Linked DNA regions of Homo sapiens: region 2 is linked to region 1. The links are contacts of gene promoters, found by promoter capture Hi-C in human tissues and cell types (Jung and others, 2019). All regions are on one chromosome and are shown on one strand. Each heading gives the region's core, a stretch centred on a gene start or on the middle of the fragment in contact. The rest is flanking DNA. Distances are from core to core; before and after follow the strand shown.

Evidence for each region. The method cuts DNA at HindIII sites, captures the fragments that hold promoters and counts their contacts. A contact is called where the count stands out against the background at its distance.
Region 2: a fragment that was not itself captured here is called in contact with the fragment with the promoter of TMEM167B in region 1 in 1 of the 25 tissues and cell types used here (psoas muscle).

The regions. Positions count from the first base shown.
Region 1 is chr1:109,089,009-109,092,448 of GRCh38, reverse strand. TMEM167B (transmembrane protein 167B) reads right to left here and starts at 1,685. Exons shown (of 3, transcript NM_020141.4): 1 at 1,567-1,685. The coding sequence starts at 1,576. RefSeq lists an enhancer at 1,852-2,051. The HindIII fragment of the contact is 5,904 bases long and covers 723-3,440 here.
Region 2 is chr1:109,570,033-109,573,472 of GRCh38, reverse strand. The region is part of intron 1 of GNAI3 (G protein subunit alpha i3); the gene reads right to left. Among named protein-coding and RNA genes, the nearest start is that of GNAI3, 23 kb to the right of the region's middle. The HindIII fragment of the contact is 7,050 bases long and covers 1-3,440 here.

The DNA of each region.
Region 1 (3,440 bases), core at 436-2,935:
CTTAGAGACTCAGCACAGAGAATTTAACATGTTCTTGTTATAAATCACTCATATGATAAAGGAGAGCTAGATATGTAGCCAAAACTGTCAGATGTGCAACTGTTGGTGAAGAATATGTTAAGGCAAAAAATTAAGCTTAATGAAAGTTGCAAGAGTAAGAATCCACATGACTACAATTTTCCTATCATTATCTTACACTTTATGGATGATACTCTTAACAAACCGAATTTCTGCCAGAATAATAACAGATTTTTCTAAAACAAAGAAAAAGTATCTAAGGCTTCAACATAGAAAGCTTTAACTTCTTAGCTCTGTTTCTTAAATACATAAACCAAGCTTATTTCTTGTACAGGGAAGCACAATGAATCACCTAATTGCAAAAAACAAGAAGATATTGGACCACAAAATGGGGGAAGAATGACTAAAATTTATTCAGCAACTACCGTGTCAAACTGCTGTCTTACTTCCTGGTTCAGATTCTGTCTTCCTCTGGGTAAATTCCCTTTTCTTACTGTGCCTAGTATCCTGAGACCTCTGACTTCCCAGGAAGCTCCAAATGAATATTATATATAACCAGTGTCTGCCAGTTCTAGATCACACTACCTCTCTTCCTCCAGTAAAACTGTCTCACAGCTAAGCTGTCACTAAGAAAGGGTCCAGCAAATTAATACATACACTAAGGTTTTCTGAGGAACTATACCTTCACGTGCTACCCCTTTTCTCTCATAAGTTTCTGCAGACAATGCCAAAATTCACAAGGAGGTTAAATTCGAGTCTTCAGTGCCAGGTCTATGGACAAAGTACTTTTGAGAAATGCTTTCCGGAGCCCCTCAAATCATCGTAATGCCTAAAAGGCTTTCTCTTCTCCTTTCCTGTAAGGTTGACACTAAAAATCATGAAGGCCCTCCTTCCTGTCCTCCTCTGGAATTCAGAATTCATAAAGTGTTTGAAGAGGCCTGGAAAATTAGGTCAGATAAACTGCCTCATCATCTAGAAGAGGCAGTGTCTAAATCCACCCTTTGCAACACTAGTCAGGGTCTCCACGTGGGATCACCCCGCCAGGACTTTAAAATCAGAAATCTTTCCGGTATTTTTCCGTAAGAAGAAGCTTTTGTGGGGTCTACATTCACCAGCAACCCCAAAAGTGTGGGACTTGATATTCTATGTCATTTATTGGCCCTCTCAACAAAACTACGGTCCGAAAGCATGAGAACGCAGGGAGCTGGGAGGAGGAGCCTCTCTCTTCCCCGGGTTTAAATAGCAGTAGTACCTCTGGGACTGACCTCTCCAAGGGCCAGAAAGAACTAAGAAAAAGAAAAGGGAAAGCAAAGCATAGGGATAGATAACTCGAGGTGTGAGCATAAGAGGCACTGGGGGTCCTAGATGAATATGGGAAGGGGGAACCCGTAGAGGAGTATAGGGGTACAGAAGTTAGGGGCGTCGAGAGGCCAAGGGGGGCCGGGCTGGGAGGGGGCGGGGAGAACGGCCACGTCAGTCCCGGCCCCGCCCGCCACGTTTTCCCTTCGTCCTTCACTCCCACCCTCCGCTCAGGGCATCAGTTCTCACCGTTCGTCATGGCGGCTGGCCCTGGACCTGGGTAGGGGGTCCGGGTTCAGTGGTAATAGCGGCGGAGATGGGGGAGCGCCCGCTTGACACTTCCCGATCCGGGCCGAGGTGACTGGAAGAAGCCGTAGTACGCAGGAGCAAGGGCCGAGAGGCGAGCGCCGAACGCTATCAGGAGTGGCTAGCCGATTGTCGAGCTCGGGAAACTGCGTGTTTACGTAGGGTAAGAAGAACGCTATCTCGAAGGCTTCGTACTTGGCCGTGGTAACTAAGTCTTTTCTGCGTGCCCCTGCGGGCGTAGGGCTGGGGCTGGCCCGCGTCAGTGTGTTTGAAAAGGTAAAGGCTTGTAGTTTTGTAGTTTATTTTGCGCCGTGGCGGCTGCTGTGTGTAAGCAGCAGCCTACCTATGAGGTTTTCATCGTCCTGGGCTTCCACTTGAGAGAACTCCAGCACCGCGGGTGAAGAAGCCGCACCTGCGGCCTCCGTGACTGCCCTTGAGCTGCTCTTCCTTACTCCGGATGGAAATCTAGTCAGACTGCGTCTGAACGTTGCAAATGAAATGAGGAACCTTGTAACAAAAACAAGTCGCGGCCGGGCGCGGTGGTTCACGCCTGTAATCCCAGCACTTTGGGAGGCCGAGCCAGGCGGATCACCTGAGGTCGGAGTTCGAGACCAGCCTGACCAACAAGGAGAAACCCCGTCTCTACTAAACATACAAAATTAGCCGGGCGCGGTGGCTCATGCCTGTAATCTAAGCACTTTAGGAGGCCGAGGCAGGCGGATCACCTGAGATCGTAGTTCGAGACCAGCCTGACCAACATGGAGAAACCCCGTCTCTACTACAAATACAAAATTAGCCGGGCATGGTGGCTCATGCCTGTAATGTAATCCCAGCTACTCGGGAGGCCGAGGCAGGAGAATCGCTTGAACCTGGGAGGCGGAGGTTGCGGTGAGCCGAGATCGCGCCATTGCACTCCAGCCTGGGCAACAAGAGCGGAAACTCCGTCTCAAAAACAACAACAACAACAACAACAACAACAAAAACCAAGTCGCATCTTTCAGATCCTAAAGCACCACGTCGTCGGAAAACATTCAAAGGGTTGCCCGTTTGCTTGTGTGAATTTTTCTTTTCCTTAAACTATCAGGAGAATCTCGATTCTCCTGCATTTAATTAATGCTGGGATCACTTCAGCCACTTTAACCAGAAATCGGCGATATCTAGACACCGCTTCTCTGAGGACACTTTGACAACGTGACAAAAGACATTGCCAGTCTAATGATGGGGGTGGGGTGGAGGAGACAAAAGTACAGATTCAGATTTGCATACTGAAATCCTTAATTGCACACAACTCGGCCCGCTTTATTAGAGTTCGGGCGGAAGTGCGACACCGAGTCCTCCAAGGCTAACTGGAGGGTTAAATTATACGGTTACTAATCCGCCGTGCTTGTCAAGGGCCTAAAGGGACTCTGCCCCTTTCTGCTGCAGTGCCATCTGCTGGCTGCAGCCTGCTTGGTTACCCAGAGGGAAAACTGCCAAAGCATCCTCTGGAAGCTGGCCTGGAAAGACAAGCCAAAGTCTAGTGCAGGACAGATGCCTTGAGAAAATATACATACATGCAGAAAGAAAAAAAAAAAAAGACGGCGTATATACGGGACAAAACCTAGGACAAGGCCAGGCAGCCACTCAGATTATATATATGTTTGCACATTCACACACAGACAAATTCCCCTGCCCAAAAGAACTGTTCAGGACCACTCAAAAACAAAACAGAACAAAAGCTCTATTGTTTAGGCCTTCGAATCCTTCATCAACCATTGTCTAAAACAGCAGCAGCTGGCCGGGCGCGGCTCACGCCTGTAATCCCAGCACTTTGGGAG
Region 2 (3,440 bases), core at 573-3,072, 480 kb before region 1:
GACAGATGGCAACATAAACTTTTGGAGGAACTCATTCACTACATAAAACATGATATAAACACTGAACATGGGCAAAAATGAAATCATTATTTTTTGGTCTATTCATTTTTATTAATTCCTCTGTTGCTGCCTGCCTATACCACAGAAATGTTCTGAGAGCAATACTACCAGTCACAGGACTAAAGATGTTTCAAATAGAAGCAGAAAAGGCATTGTTCCTATCAATTTCTCACCATATGTCATCTCAAGACCACCCTGCCCTCCTTAGCCAGCTGGAATCACTTTAAACAAATGACCACAAATGTCAAGCTAGCCTTCTGACCTCCTTGACAAATCCACCTGCTAGATCTTCCCTAGTCAACTCATTTTCCTATCTTCCAAGATGCCTATATCACACCACCTCCTCTCTCTCAAATTTTATAAACCCCCTCCCAATTCTGACTCTCAACTGATGATCCTACCCTACTTTTCCATAAAAATTAAAGCAATCAGAAAAAACTACATTTTCCCACAACGACATCTACCAGTCTATCTGTACCTCCATTAATATTCTCTACCTTCATCAATGGATGAAAAGTCTCTGCCAATGTTTTAAAATCAACTTCTCCCCTTATGCACCTTCATTTTACCTACTCAAGGTCATGGCTGCTGCAATTTCCCATGATATTTTCCACATCTCAAATATGATCAGTTTTTTCTTTCCACTGGGTCATTCTCATCAGCATGCAAACTTACTATACTATTTTCCATCTTTAAATCAACACACATACACACCCCTAACTTTCCTTGACCCCACACATTTTCTTCTAGCTACCACACCATTTTCTCTATCCCTCTTTGCAGCAAAACTCCTCTAATGTGCCATCTATACTCAGTGCCTCCAATTTCGTACATCCAATTCTGTCCTTCAGCTATGCTAATCAGGCTTTCATCCCCACCACTCTAATAAAACTACTTCTCAAGGTCTCCAAAAACTTCCATCTTGACAAACCCAGTTGGTCAATTCTTGGTGCTCATCTTAGCCTCTCAAGCAGAATTTGTCTAAGTTGAAATATTTTCTTCACTAGGCAGGCTTCTAGCCAACATACCCTTCAGGTTTGATTCCTACTTCACTCCTCAATCTCCTCTCTCCAGTTTCTGAATTATTATTATTATTATTATTTGAGATGGAGTCCCGCTCTGTAGCCCAGGCTGGAGTGCAATGGTACAATCTCGGCTCACCGCAACCTCCGCCTCCCAGGTTCAAGCAATTCTCCTGCCTCAGCCTCCTGAGTAGCTGAGATTACAGGCGCCTGCCACAACACCCAGCTGATTTTTGTATTTTTAGTAGAGACAGGGTTTTTCACCATATTAGCCAGGCTGGTCACAAACTCCTGACCTCAGGTGATCTGCCCGCCTCAGCCTCCTAAAGTGCTAGTATTACAGGCGAAAGCCACCGCACCCAACCCAGTTTCTGAATTCTAAAGGTTATATTGCTTCAGGGGTCCCTCCTTGGCCCTTTTCCCTATCTAAACTCATTCTCTAAGTTATCTAATCTCATGGTCTTTATTTTTTGGAGACAGACTCTTGCTCTGTCACCCAGGCTGGAGTGCAGTGGCGCAATCTTGGCTCACTGCAACATCTGCCTCCCAGGTTCAAGTGATTCTCCTGCCTCAGCCTCCTGAGTAGCTGGGACTACAGGCACACGCCACCACACCTGGCTAATTTTTGTATTTTTAGTAGAGACGGGGTTTCACCATGTTTGCCAGGCTGCTCTCGAACTCCTGGGCTCAAGCGATCCACCTGCCTCGGCCTCCCAAAATGCTGGGATTACAGAAGTGAGCAATCGCACCCGGCCCTAATCTCATGGCTTAAACACTATTCAAAAACTGATCCTAACAGTTAACATCTAGTGAGTACCCTCGGCCACACTGTTCTAATCACTTTGTTTGTAATAACTAATTTAATCCTCACAATAACCCTATGAGGTAGACATTATTACCCCCATTTTACAGATGAGATAAATGATGCAGACAGATGTCAAGTAACTTGCCTATAATTACACAGTTAGTAAGTGGCAGAACTGAAATTTGCATTCACAGTTTGGCTCCAAAGCTGGTGTATACTGTCTCTATACTAATGATTTCCAAATTTAGATCTCTAATCTTGGCTTCTAACCTTGGCTCCAGATTCATATATCTAAACCATCTACCTGATATTAGATTTCTAGTAGGTATTTAGATTTCACAAACCTAAAATGCTCAAAACTGAGATACTGATTCCCCAACTCACTCTCACCTCAAAACAAACCCTGCTCCTCCCTCAGTCTTCTCATTCCAGTAAATGGCACCAACATTCACCAGTTGCTCAAGCCAAAAATGTTAAATGACATGTGACTAACGTGCAGATAAGACAAGGATGCCAGTGCCAATCTGTATATTAAATATTAGTAAAGCTTAATTTTTTTAAATAAAGCAATATAAATAGTTAATATAATAGTTTTAACAGTTTGTTCCTGAACATTGGAAACCATAGGCCTAGATCACTGCAAAAGCTTCCTAAATAGTTCAGTGCTTCAGACCTTGCCTTTTCTAAAGCCAGTTTGCCAGTCAGTAGGTGGAATAAACTTTGTAAAATGTAAATTAGATCTTGTCACACGATCTTCAATTATACTCAAAATCCATGGGCATTATGGTGCAATATGCTCTGGCCCCTGCCTACCTCTTCACCCTCATCTCTTGTTACTCTCCACTTTGTCCTCACAGCTCTTGTCAGACCAGCATTCTTGCTTTTCCTCCAACATACCAAACCGGTTCTTACTGAGTTAGGTCCTGACTCTGTCTTTCCTGTCTTTGCGTTTACTGTTACCTGAAATAAGTTTTGCAAGATTTTCTTCCTCACAGGAACAGCCTTTTCTGACTAATCTATCTAAATAGCTCCCACCCCGTCACAGTCTCTCCCCTTATTCTGTGTTATATTTTTTCATAGCACTTACCACTTCTTCACATGACAGATTAGCTCATTTCTTATCTTCCCCACTAAAATATAAGCTCCATGAAGGCTTATTCATCCCTGCATTCCCAGGGCCTTAAACTGGTCATGACATAAATTATCTACTCAAATAAATATTACTAAACAATGAATAATATTTAGTAACCATGATTCTTTACTAAATATTTCTCAACTTTACTAACCAAAAGTTAATTAAAATCCAAATATAAAAATTCTAGACAACTACATTCTTACAGAATCAAAAGGTACATTTATATATGATCTTGTCTTATTACATAATCGATAATCAGGGGTAGTACTAAATAGTTAATACTCAAATAGCACATAGTGACTTTCTTAGGATGCTGTTATAAAAAGGTGAATCCTCTCATTCATATCTAAAAAATCCAATGATTCTACTCTGGGAAGAAAATACAAATGCATACCAGTTATATTTTAAATTGCTTAAA